Linked DNA regions of Homo sapiens: regions 1 and 2 are each linked to region 3. The links are contacts of gene promoters, found by promoter capture Hi-C in human tissues and cell types (Jung and others, 2019). All regions are on one chromosome and are shown on one strand. Each heading gives the region's core, a stretch centred on a gene start or on the middle of the fragment in contact. The rest is flanking DNA. Distances are from core to core; before and after follow the strand shown.

Region 1 (4,338 bases), core at 850-3,349, 370 kb after region 3:
TTGGAGGAGGAGGTGGTGGTGGTTTTAGGTGAGTCTTATTAAAAAAGTAATAAATAAATCCAGACAAGCATCCTAGAGCTCTGTTCATTTTCTCCTCAATCCCCACGGCAACTTCTGGAAGAAACATTGGCTTGAAGAAGCAGCCTTCCACTGACCCAAACCCTCACTTCACAGATGGCCAAGAGAGAGAAGCAGATGACTCTATGTGGCAGAGTCAGCACTGGAACCCCAAACCCAGGGTTCCTTCCCATTCACCACGCTACTCCCTCTTTTGGGCAGAAGATGAGGCAGTCAATTAGGGCACAAAGCAGTACAATAGGCCCAAGAAGTCCAACCACCCTCAGTGGCTCCAATAGAGACCAGGGCCCGCATAAGAACAACTTCCCCAGGCAGGCAGTAGGGCCAGGTGTGCTACAGTGGGAAGAGCCCCAGCCTACATAGGTTATCAGTAAGGAGCTGGTCGTAGCTCTGCCAAGGACACACCATATGAGCTTACAGAACCCCCTTTCCTCTCGGACCTGAGTTTCCTCATTTGTCAGAGGCAAGGTCGTATAGTCCTTGCCTGTGGAATCCATTGAGTTCATGGAAACAAGGAGGCTGCCTTCTCCTGGGTCCCTCTGTGAGATTTCTCAGACCTTCTGAACCTCTCCATCTGTGAAATGAGGATTCCACCTACTCTAAGCACACTTGTGGAGAATTTCAAATTAAGTAATGAGCACGAAAACCTACAACAAGGTGTGGCATTCAGTGCGTATTGGCTCTTGTCGTACCAACCCCTTTGGCTTGCCCACACCCCAGCCCCTACCTCCACAATTTCTCTGATCTCACACTCATTCTCCAGCCGCTCCAGTTTCAGGTGTGCTGTGCCAACCAGCTTGTCGCTTCTGAAGAAGGACCTGGGGAGTCAAGAGGCAGCAGAGGATTGGACTGGGCAGGGAAGGCAGGAATGTGCTGGCTGAGCCCATGCAGGGGCAGCAGTGACAAACGCTCTTCCCTCCTCCCGGCCCGTGTGGCAGCATGACCGATAGGAGCCTCACCCTTTGTGGAAGATCTCAAACTTGATGCCTTTGCTCTGGATCACCCTCTTGAAGCCCCGGTGGTTTCGGTTGATGTTTAGTTTGAAGAGTTGATCAAATTCTGGCAAAGGGGGAGAAAGCAAGGAGGGGCTTGGCTCTCGGGATTTCCTGAGGAAGTGGAAATGGAGGCCCAGGGCTGGCTGCCTTCCCCCAATCTCTCCACCTGCATTTTGGGGTACTGCCTCCAAAGGGTGGTAGAGCATCGCGGTCCTGGCCTTGGAAGTGAGTTTTTGTACTCTTTTTAGTCATAGATTGTAACAAAGTAGGAAAGACTTGGAATTGGGATACAGAATTCCTGTGTTCATATCCCATTTCTACCACTTCCTTGCCATGAGGCCCCAGGCAAGTCCCTGTACCTCTCTGCGTGTTTCTCCAACTACAGAAGAAGCATGTTAACAGCACCTTTATCTCCCAAGTGGGGTGGATCAAGTAAGGGCATAGATGGGAACCCACTCTGGAAACACCAGTGCTGCCCACACACTCTGAGGGAGGAGAAAGAGGCCCACGTGTGGCCCTCACCTGGAGAGTTTGTGTTCTTCACCACAGCTGTTTTGCTTTTTTGAGCCTGGTCCTAAGCAGTGAGGAGGGAGAAGTCAGGACAGCGTATAAACAAAGAGGCACACAGGGCAGGCACTGCAGCCACACCTCCCAGGGATGGGAAGAAAGTGAGCACAGGGTCCTGGAATGCAAGGCGGGTTTCAGAGGATCCTACTTCTACCTGAACCTCACCGAGTTAGGGTAGTGAAACTCAAACCGCACAAAAGCATCCAGGTCATCGGGAGTCACCCCTGGGAAGGAGAAAAGGGAGTCAAGTCAGAGGGAGTGGCCAGGAGCCTAGCACTTGGAGTGTCCGGGCAAGAGCCTCCTGGAGTAGGGGCGGCCCTAGGGTTACCTGGAGGGGCTGGGAGGTTCATTCCCCGGACAATGATCAGATGCATTTCTGTGCTGTTGAGTTCTGAGAAGATCCTAGAGCCAAGCGGGAAGGAGAAAATGCTCAAAAGTGAAGGACAGTAGTGGAACAAGGTCCCTTCGTCCAGGGCCTGTCTGCCCAGCTGGGTGGTGACGGGAGGGAAGGCAGAGCTGGTATGCAGACCTTGATCTCTGACTTCTGGTCCAGAGCTCTTTCCACAGCACCCAGACAGCTGTGCGCTCTCCACTAGCATGCACCCTGTCGTCCTCAGCAGCCCCAGTGCCCACAGCGGGGCCAGGCTTGGGAAGCCTCACTAAAGGGGTAGCAGTCTCTGGCCTGGGCTCCCAGCCTCCTGCCCCTCCCTGCCTGGAGCCCCTGTTTCCCTAGGCCTTGGTACCTCACAGTCTGGAATGTCTTCAACTCAAAGTGGTGGGTGGGAGGGTCGAGGCCCTGAGCCTGGGCCAGCTGCAGGATCTCCAGCTGTTTCTTGCGGTCCTGAGCAAGCTTCTCAAATCTGACAGGGATGGGTATGTCAGCATGATGGTGGATTTTCTGCTCCCCACCCTATGAGCCCAGCCCCAGCCCTTGCACTTACCGGGTGGTCTCAGCCACGTTGCCCTGGTGCATGAACTGCTTGGAGAACAGCAGGCACTTCTGAAAATAGAGGCCCAGAGTGACTCCCGAGCCCAGAGCAGGACCTGCCTTGGTTGGCATTCAAGGCTAGACTTCTCAAAGCTTCAACTTTCCTCTGTAGCCTCACCTCTCTCCTCCCACAACACAGCCCCAAGGGCACTACTCCCAAGTCCCACCACGTTTCTCTGCCTACACTTTTGTCATTTTCTCTTCTGAGGAGAGCCATTCCCCAAATTAGCAACTCCTTCCATCAAAACCTAACTCAAACATCCCCTCAGAAGGCAGCCTTTCCAGAACAGGTGGCAGTTCAGATAGATAAATACATAAACATACACGCACATCACAATGTTCTTTCCCTCTTCTCTGTTGTTTGTACCACCCTGAAAGGGGTATTATCACCCCATCTCATAGATGAGGAAAATGTAGTTCAGAGAAGAAAGTGCCTTGCCCAAGTCACACAGTGAGTAAGTGGAAGAGCTGAGAATTTTGAGTCCAGGGCTGTGTGGTCTGAGCTCCAGGTCTTCCTCCACGGGGAGGCTGTGGGCACAGAGGGGAGGAACAGACGAGGGGCCTGCTGACCTCTTGTTGCTCCAGAAGCATTTTTTGCAGCTGGGCATACACCTCCTCCGCCTTCTGGGAGAGTCGCAGGTCCTCATGGTGGATGAGGATGAAGTCACCCTCCTCATCCGTCAAGGGCGAAGGCACCTACCCAGGTCACAAGGCCCCTCGGGCCCCAAGAGTCAGATTACTCCTCTACCAAGTCCAACAAAGGCAGGAGCCCAAACTAAGTAATTCTTCAGCTTCTACTAAAGTCCAGTGATGACAACTCATCGCCTCCCATTCTATCCCAAAATAACACTCTTGCCTCCCATGGCCTGGCCCAGCCTTGTCATCTCTGACCACAGGCAGCCCACCTTCCCTTCTCCTGGTTTCCTTTGGGGCCGTGAGGTAGAGGAGTATGAGCAAAAGGCTCTTTCCCAGCTGTCATCATGCTCTGTCCAAACCCTGCCTCATCCCAGAAGCTGCCCTTGTTCACAGCCTGTCAAGCCTGCCAGCCGCCACCTCCGCCTGAGAAGTCCTGGTGGTTAACCAGGTGGGACTCACCTTGGACAGATCAACAGGTCTGCCAGATCGGGCCTGGATGATCTGAGCCTCAAGCCATTTGGCTACCCGCAGATAGGCTTTGGCCTGCTCCAGGTCCTGGCTGCGCTTGGCCTGCAGGGCTGCCCGCTGATACTGCAGTTTCCGTGCCTCCAGCAGTGCCAGCTGCTCCCGCACTGAAGGGAGAAGGCCACTGGTTAGGGCCACACCTGCCCTCTCTAGGCCCTCAGTTCTTCACCCTGCTTGTCCCCAACTCACCAGATGGACTCGGTGACTCCTTAGAACTTGAGGCCCTGGGCTCAGGCAGGCGCTGGGATGAAGGGACTGTGGGCCGTGCAGGTTTCTTGGCCACTGGGGCCTGTGCTGGGGGCTCACCCTGCAGGTGCCCAGGAGGCTGTTAGGAGGGGATGTGTTCCCTAGCATAGTCATGGCGGCTCCCAGACTTGGGCTGTCTTCCTAACACTGTACTACATCGCTGTGTGACCTGAGATGGGTGGCTTCTCTTCCTGGGTCCTAAAAGATCTGAGAGCTAGAAGCAGCCTCAGAAGCTCTCACATCTAACCTCCCCAGCAGGAGAGAGACTGCAGGGTAATGGGGATGGAGCCGGGGCTCTGGGTT
Region 2 (4,620 bases), core at 1,676-4,175, 350 kb before region 3:
GATTTTATGAGTTAATTTTTAAACTTAATAAGATGTTTTTAGTACTTAGTATGTGCTAGGAATAAACTGAACTAATCTTCTAAAAGCTTGCAGTCCTGTTGGAGATACAATTAAGTAGTTACAATCAAGATATAATCAAGTAGTTACTTTTGTGCTTTTGATTTAGTGCTTTTTATTAGATATTATTAATCTCTAATTGTTTTATTGTAATAATTTAAAATACAGTTGTAAAAATTTGATTGAAGAGGACTGAAAGTTTACAGAACCGGGGAAAAGGTTTCCCCTGTGTTACTTGGGAGTGTTGAATAGCTTGAATTGGGACTGAATGGGCATATTTTGAGTGAATTATGTTTGTTGGATGAGTAAGATAACTGGGAAAGTGGTCTGGGACCATTCATTGAGCAGACATTTATCTATTAATAATACCTTCCAGGTCCCAGGCATTAATTAGGTTCTGAAAGATAGGGTGGGAATAATAGTAATGTAAAGATAATTTTTTTTTTTTTTTGAAACAGGCTCTCACTCTGATGCCCAGACTGGAGTGCAGTGCATTGTAACCTCTAACTCCTGGGCTAACAGGATCCTTCCACCGCAGCCCCCTGAGTACCTAGGATTACAGGTGTGTGCCACCACACCTGGCTAATTAAAAAAAATTTTTTTTTTTAGAGATGGGTTCTCACTATGTTGCCCAGGCTGGTCTCCAACTCCTGGCCTGAAGTGATCCCCCTGCCTCAGCCTCCAAAATGCTGAAATTACAGGTGTGAGCCACTGTGCGTTGCCATATTAAAGCAGATTTAAGACTGACATTTAGCTAAATAGTTCTTAGTATGTTCTTAAAATTACTTTTTCCTAAGGATTTAAGAAATGGACCAAGCAGGCAGACCGCTGTGTGATTTGAGATTATTATGAGCTATTCTCTTGAGAATGCAGGTCATCTCATTGTTGGTCATTACCTTGCTCTGACTGGGGCCTCTTTTATAAGGGAATTAATCCCATTCATGAGGGCTCTGCCCTTGTGACCTAATCACTTCCCAAAGGCGCACCTCCTAATACCATCATCTTAGGGGTTGGGATTTCAACATATGAACTTTGTGGGGATGTAAACATTCAGTCCATTACAGTATGTATTCCTATAAATACATGTTTCTCACATTAAGTAAGCCATAGAAGGATATTTTCTAGAATAGTTTGTGAAATTAATTTTGGCAAGATAAGTTCTACTTTCTGATAGACTTATGTGACTCTTTCAGAAATTTCTTACCCTGGGAAAATAAAAATTGTTTCTGATTTTATTAATTTACTGATTTCCAGAAGGTTCTTTATTCTATAGCCAGCAAAAAGCTGCTTTTGGTTGCTTAACCCCATCCTAGATTACTTCTAGCAGGGCCTTACAAATGTGTTGATTATATCACCAACTATTTTGATAATGTAACAGTTGGAGGTTAGGATCTGTTTCTCAGCTTCCTGGGAGCACCGGGTCAATGCCGAGATAAATATCTGTTTAGATCTACAGAATAAATTGATTTTCACACTGACAGTATATCGAAGAGAATCTAGATATCCTAAGGTGTTTGCTGCCTAGATCTAGGCACACAGTATTGATTAGAATGTTTGGAATCAGCATTCCTTAGATGTTTCTTTACAGAAAAAGTACTGACTTTTAAAAAAGGTAAGTGTCAAGTGGTTATAAAGATGGTAGCTAGCGTAAAGGCCAAATGTTTTTTTTTCCTTTGAGGCAGGTTTAACAGACTTAGTAACACACTAAAATCTGTGAAGTTTAATTTGTCTTTGGGCAGCCGATTTTAATTTTCTGACCAACATAATCAGAATAAGAATAGAAGCTTCAAATTACTGGCTGTTGAGGCATAGTACATAAAATTGAGGGTTACGTTAATGAAAATTTAAATGGCTAGCTGTACTTACGTGTCTCCGTCCTATCATTTATTCAATATTTTTTGAGTTTCCTCTGTGTAATAGGTCAATATTCTCCTAGAATTTAAGGCTAATAGGGATGATGAAATTAAGTAATTTCAGAATTGTTTAATTACAGATTTATAAAGTACTTGGCAGGCTCTTAATTATTTATCTTTGTTAATTTTATCATGAATGCACACAAGGTATTCTGGATCAGAGACATTTCATAATAATAAATGTATTGGCCTGCTTTTGCCCTAGTCCTTACCCCTAGGATGATGCTATAAAAGCCAGGTCAATTGTCCTGCGTGAGTAGCCAGACACTCTGTAGGTGGGGGACAAGGAAAAATTATTTTTCTCTCCTATGAAGGGGAAATAGGCAACTGTCCCCCTCCCCTCATGAAATGGTCACTTAGGAAAGGTAATAAGCCTAAATCCTAACTCCAACCCTTTGGCATATCTGGAGTTTTATCTCTTTTTACATACAAATATCTAGGGAGATAGCTGTACCCCTTTTCTTAGCACCTTGGAAGCTTGGCCTAGGGAACTGCTCCAGGCTGTAACCTTTCAAACTTCTCTGGGAAATGAGAGAGGGTTTTATTATCCTTCCAGACCAGTTGAAAACAAAAGATCTAATCCTTATGGCATGCAGAAATGTTGCCAGGACCCTAGAGCTTTTTAGAAGAACATTGAGAAATCCATGGACATTTTATGTCTTAGTCTGTTTTCTGTTGCTATAACAGAATACCACAGACTAGATAATTTATAAAGGAAAGAAGTTTATTTTGGCTCATGGTTTTAGCAGCTGGAAGAGCATAGTGTCTTCTTGCTGCTTCATAACATGGTGGAGGGCATCACATGGTGAGAGAGGTAGAGCAAGAGAGGTGAGGGAAATTGCTTTTACGACAAAGTCACTCCATCAATAAAGAGCACACTCCTGTGATAGTGACATTAATCCATCAAGGAGGACAGAGTCCTCATTAATCTATTCATGAGGACGGAGGGATTAGGTTTCTAACACATGAACTTTTGGGGGATACACTCAAGCCCATAGGATTTTATTTTCCCACAGTATTATGGGAAAAAAAGGGTTTTATTATATCCTTGTTAGAAGTGAAGGGTTGGCTATCTGCTCTAGAGGTTCAGGTAAAGCTTCCCTCCTCAGGGAACTGAGGGTAAGTAGGAATTAGCCAGTAAAAAGAGTGAGGGTAGATGAGTAAAGGCACTTCAGGCAATGAGAACAATCCATGTAAAAGTCCTTAGGCAAGAAAGTGATTGGCTGGTTCAGGGAACTGAAAGATGAGTGTGGGTGGGGCCCAGGGATGATGGGGTATTTTGAGGTAGGCTGGAGCCAGGCCAAGCAGGGTCTCTAGAGAGAGCAAATTGATAAATGTGCATTTTATTTTAAGTGCAATGTAGAGCCATGAAGTACTTTTTTTTGCTTGCTTGCTTGTTTTGTTTTTTAATCGAAGAAGTAACCTGATCAGATTCATGTTTTGAAAAGACTCCTGGCTCCTGTGTGGAGAAAGGATTGGAGGAGAGGAAGAAGAGATAGAGAAGAATTAGAAGGTGATACAGGCTGGGTACGGTGGCTCACTCCTGTAGTCTCAGCACTTTGGGAGGCTGAGGTGGGTAGATCGCTTGAGCCCAGGCGTTTGAGGCAGCTTGGGCAACAAGGCGAAACCCCTTCTCTACAAGGAAAAAAAAAATTAGCTGGGTGTGGTGGCACATGCCTGTAGTCCCAGCTACTCTGGAGGCTGAGGTGGGAGGATCACTTGAGCCTAGGAGGCAGAGGTTACAGTGAGCCAAAATTGTGCCACTGCACTCCAGCCTGGGCAACAGAGTGAGACCTTGTCTAAAAAAAAAAAAAAAAAAAAAAAAAAAAGCAGGTGATACAATATTGGGATGTATTGTAGAGGGCTGGATTGGGGTGGTTGATGGTAGAGATGAGGTTAAATGAAAGGTTTTGAGAGTTTGTTTTTCTTTTTCCCTTATGACCTCATGAAAGAAGATTTGAGAGCTTTTATGAGACAGAAATGAGGGGACTTTGATTGATTGGATGGAAGAGAGACAGGATCACGAGTTAGTTTTATACATATTGAGTTTTGTTTTGTTTTGTTTTTGAGACGGAGTCTTGCGCTGTTGCCCAGGCTGGAGTGTAGTGGCGCAATCTCGGCTCACTGCAACCTCTGTCTCCCAGGTTCAAGCAATTCTAGCTGCCTCAGCCTCCCTAGTAGCTGGGATTACAGGCGTGTGCCACCACACCCGGCTAATTTTTGTACTTTTAGTAGAGACAGGGTTTCACCATGTTGGCCAGGCTGGTCTTGAACTCCCGACCTCATGTGATCTGTCCGCCTCAGCCTCCCAAAGTGCTGGGATTATAGAGGTGAGCCACCGCGCCCAGCCCATGTTGAGTTTTAAATGCCTTTGAGAAAGCCAGGTGGAGATGTGCTGAGGGAGAGAGTGGAGAAAATGTGAAATAGCCCTTGCCGAGAATGGGAGAGCAAGTCTACTGATGAATCATTTCCTGCTCTTCCCTCTGCCTGGGACTTTGCCCGCAGATTCTTCACTTTACTCGGTCCTCTAATTCAAATCTCAGTTCTTGTATCAACTCCTTGAAGAGCTTTTTCAAGCTACTTAAGTTAAAATAGAACCTCCTTTCCCAACAATAACTTTCTGATCATCACTGCTCTAATTTAAATGTGT
Region 3 (4,199 bases), core at 511-3,010:
ACCAGGAAGGCTTCCCCAACCCACCCACCTCCCCCAAAATGCTTCTTCTCTGGCTCCCACAGGGCACCAGGGCTTTCCACTTCTATAGATAGGGCCTTTCACGGCTTCCATTGTCTTCCTCTGTTTATAGGCACAGAACAGGTGGACACCCACCTGTGCGCGCGCACACACACACACACACACACACACACACATCCTCTCCTTTTACTGTCTCCCACCCCTTTCCATCTGGATTCCAGGAAGCCGGGGGAAGAGGGCCCATCTTGTTTTGTGTGTGTGTGTGTGTGTGTGTGTGTGTGTGTGTGTGTGTGTGTGTGTTTTGAGGGCCCATCTTTCTCCCACCTCCTCCACATCTCTCTTAGCTTCCAAAGGCTGCTGCCCTGCCCTCCCCAAAGTTGCTTCCATGCTTGGACTACAGAACAGAGTTGGATGACTTTTTCTGTCCACGATTCTCTTATTTTCTGTGATCCCCGGTGCCCGTGTAACAAGGTCCAGTGCCTGGGTCCCCTCCTTGGACTCCTGAGTGGCCGAGACACCGCTAGTGCGTGGACACCACTCCAGCCCCCATTACCTTTCCACCCTTACACCACGACCCACACCTGGCCTCCTCCCCAGGCTGACCCAGCGCCCCACCACCCTATCTATACACTCCAAGTTCTCCCACGATTCCTCCACTTGCAGCCGCCAGACCCTACTCTATTCCAGAGCCTCCTCTCCACTCCTGACCAGAATGTAGGCCCCTGTGTCCATTTCCAAGGCCACTTCCCTGTGTCTCCACCGGCTCCCTGCCCCCTTCCTCTGCAGCAGGGTAGACCCAACCTGGCCTCTCACCCTTCCATTCTCCCAAGCTTCCCGCCCCCAAGCCCCACCCCTCGTCTTCCATCTACAGTTACCCCCACGCCGGTCCCCAGCCGGGCTCAACCTCCGACCCCAGCTATCCATACCCACATCCCCCATAAATGACCCTCTTTCGACCAGACACTGCCCTGCTGCCTTTCTCCTTCCCAGCTATCCATACCCACATCCCCACCCCCGACCCTCTCCCAACCAGACACTCCCCAGCTGCCCAGCGCCCCTTGCCCTCGGCACCTCAGTCCCCTCCAGCTCCAAACGACCCCCGCCCAGCCAGTCCCCTCCCCTCAGCTCCTCACCTCCATGCCTCCCCCCGCACCCCCGCTCTAGCTCCCCTCAGTCCGCTCCCTTCACCGCCCCCTTCGCTGCCCCTCGGCTGCCCGGTACCACCTTTCCGCACAGCCCCACTCCGCCCTCCTCGCAGCTCCCCCGCCCCCCACGCCCCCGTTTCCCCCAGCGATCCCTCACTGCCCTCCAGTTGCCCCCCATCTCTCCTCCCAGCCCCAGCGCCGTCTTTCTTGCTCCCCTCCCGCCCTTGGAGCTCCCCCGGCTGCCCCCAACGTCTGGGAGACCCCCTCGGCGCCCCCTCCCTAGGTGAGCCCCACCTCTGCCGCCGCGGAGCCCCCTCCCTCGCTCCTCCCCCGGCTTCCTTCCGCTGCCCCGCGCTCCTTCTCGGCGCCCGCTCTCGGTGCCCAGCGCCCCGCGCCGGGGATCGGTCCCTGATCCTCCGCGGGCGGGCTGCCGGGGCCGCGCCCCTTACCGCGGACTCCGAGTGCGGGACGACGGGTTCGCTCCCGGACGGTCGGCGGGACGGCAGGACCTGGCGTCGGGAGGGCGCGGAGGGGGCCGGGGCGGGGCGCTGCGGGATGGTCTGGTCCGGTCAGGTCCTCACAGTGGCGCCTGAGGGCTGAGGCTCCCGCTCCAGCACTGCTCCGCTCCGGCCGCATCCAGGCCCCGCCCAAGGGCGGAGTCTGTGTTCGCCCCGCCCCGGCCCTCAACTCCTAGCAGGTGTAATCCGAGGTGACTCAGGACCTCCAGGTCCCCCATGTCTGGGTGACTCTCGTGATTTATCTTAATTGTCATGCCTCGTTCCATTGACTGAACTTACTAGGGTAATTAGAGAGCTTTGATGATAATGTAGCTGATGATGGGTAGCAGTTTTGCCATTTCCAAACTGCTTTCTGGTCCGGTCCGTTCTATGGCTCCGTCTTCACAAAAGCCCAGAGAGGGAGGCTGACTACAAGCGGAAACCAAGCCAGAAACCTGGACGCTGTCCTCTACCCTATCTGTGTTTCCTTCACACCCCACATCCCACCGCCTTAACATATCCCTGCCCTTCCTCTGTGTCTCCATTGCCCTTGTTCTGACTCCAGCATCATCACTTCTTGCTTGGACTAATGCAACAGCTTCCTAATTCCTGCCTTCACTCTCCAATTCACCCTATAAAACCAGGACGTGGTGTCAGCATGGCCATTTCCACCCTTGTACAAAAATTCTTTCTCCTGTGGTCTCCAGTCATACCACCCTCCACCCCTCCTCATCACTGACACCCAATTGTTCCTTATGCATTAAAGATTGCAGCCCCTGGCCCATGGTCATCCTAACTAGCCCCTGTTCTGCCATACTCCTGGTGACTTCGGTAGCTGTGAGACTTCCTGGTCCCATTCATTCTGAGTCAGATACCAAAATCATTTTGACACAAGCCCGAGCAACCCTTTAAAAAATGTCACCATGTTACCATCAACCTTGTTTAAGAAAACTCTCGGCCAGGCACAGTGGCTGACGCCTGTAATCCCAGCACTTTGGAAGGCCAAAGTGGGCAGATCACTTGAGGTCAGGAGTTCGAGACCAACCTGGCCAACATGGTGAAACCCTGTCTCTACTAAAAATACAAAAATTAGCCGGGCATGGTGGTGCATGCCTGTAGTCCCAGCTACTTGGGAGGCTGAGGCAGAATTGCTTGCACCCAGGAGGCAGAGGTTGCAGTGAGCCGAGATCACTGCACTCCAGCAGTGCACTCCAGCCTGGGCAACAAAGCCAGACTCCATCAAAAACCAAACAAACAAACAAACAAAAACCTCTCAATGGTTTCCCATTACCAGGAGGCTGTCAACAGGAGTAGAAAAATGTTCTTGCCTGGCCTGGCCCTAGGAAGTCCCACTTCCACTAGAGGAGGCAGATAGAGGAGGCAATAAATACCCCACCCTCAAATCCTGATATGGACTTCCAGTCTTCCTGAGGTCACAGGAGCCAGCTGAAGGCTTGCTCTAGAATCATTGTCTTTCCCCACACTTCTCCCCCATCTCAGATCTTAGAGGTCTGAGTCAAATACCAAAACCATTTTCCCCCCAAGTTCCATTATGACCCTGTCTACAGTGTACATCTCCAGCCTAGGAACCACCCAAGCTGACAGCTCCTCTGCTTGTCTGGCCTCTGCCTCAGACGCTTACTCTTCTGAGCTTCTTGCCCAGCCCTTTCACTCACACTGCCCATCACACTGGCAGCTCTTTCCTCTGTGCCTTCTAGAATCCTGTTCTTTTGTCAACAAACTCTGCTATACCCTCTGCTTCTTCAGAGTACTCAGGTGACTTCTTTGCCTGAGCCTCCTCCAGGTACTGCCTCCTTTGCTGCCCTCTGCTAGAAGGCTTCTCATTTTTCCACTCCCCATATACTATAAAACTAGGATGTGGGGATGGCATGGCCATTTCCACCCTTGTGCAAAAATTCTTTCTTCTGTGCTCTCCAGCCATACCCCCCTCAACCCCTCCTCATCACTGACCCCCCAATTGCTCCTTATGCATTACAGATTGCAGCCCCTGGCTCATGGTCATCCTCACTAGCCCCTGTCCTGCCATCCTCCTGGTGACTTCAGTAGCTATGAGATTTCCTGGTCCCTCAGTCCTTGTCCTCCACATCACCTTGGCCACCAGCTCCCATGGTCACTCTTGAGCTCTTAATCACCCACTGCTGGTACCTCTGTAATAGCAAAATCAAACATGCTACGCTGAACTGCTCCCTCACTCTCTTTCTCTCACAAGGCCCTACTTCCCTCATTTCAAAATAGACGAGATGATAATGATTATTCTTTCTTCCTAGGAATAATGAGACAGCATATAGAGCCATCCTTTTAAAGTTGTGAGACAATATGAGAACAGATGGTATTGCTTTTATGTAGCCTCAGTTCTTCTGGTTGCTTTCTCCTTCTCCCTCCTCTGAAAGGCGGTATAGTAAATTAGAAAGGGCACACACAGGCTTGGGGCCAGGCAGACCTGGTCTTCAGTCCTTGCTTGCTGTGTGATCTTATGCCAATTACCTAATTTCTCTCGCACGCACACCCCTTCCTTATT

The links. Contacts are between HindIII fragments. The study calls those that stand out against the background at their distance.
Region 1: a fragment that was not itself captured here is called in contact with the fragment with the promoter of RAB3B in region 3 in 1 of the 25 tissues and cell types used here (spleen).
Region 2: a contact is called between a fragment that was not itself captured here and the fragment with the promoter of RAB3B in region 3, in 1 of the 25 tissues and cell types used here (spleen).

The regions. Positions count from the first base shown.
Region 1 is chr1:52,353,803-52,358,140 of GRCh38, forward strand. CC2D1B (coiled-coil and C2 domain containing 1B) reads right to left here. Exons shown (of 25, transcript NM_001330585.2): 14 at 3,979-4,096; 15 at 3,724-3,896; 16 at 3,199-3,324; 17 at 2,582-2,640; 18 at 2,384-2,500; 19 at 1,969-2,042; 20 at 1,806-1,864; 21 at 1,596-1,647; 22 at 1,038-1,137; 23 at 806-896. Among named protein-coding and RNA genes, the nearest start is that of CC2D1B, 10 kb to the right of the region's middle. RefSeq lists an enhancer at 3,369-3,870. The HindIII fragment of the contact is 6,192 bases long and covers 1-4,338 here.
Region 2 is chr1:51,640,308-51,644,927 of GRCh38, forward strand. The region is part of intron 1 of OSBPL9 (oxysterol binding protein like 9); the gene reads left to right. Among named protein-coding and RNA genes, the nearest start is that of OSBPL9, 26 kb to the left of the region's middle. The HindIII fragment of the contact is 3,924 bases long and covers 964-4,620 here.
Region 3 is chr1:51,988,940-51,993,138 of GRCh38, forward strand. It overlaps RAB3B (RAB3B, member RAS oncogene family), which reads right to left and starts at 1,761. Exons shown (of 5, transcript NM_002867.4): 1 at 1,613-1,761. RefSeq lists a silencer at 1,675-1,784. The HindIII fragment of the contact is 14,307 bases long and covers 333-4,199 here.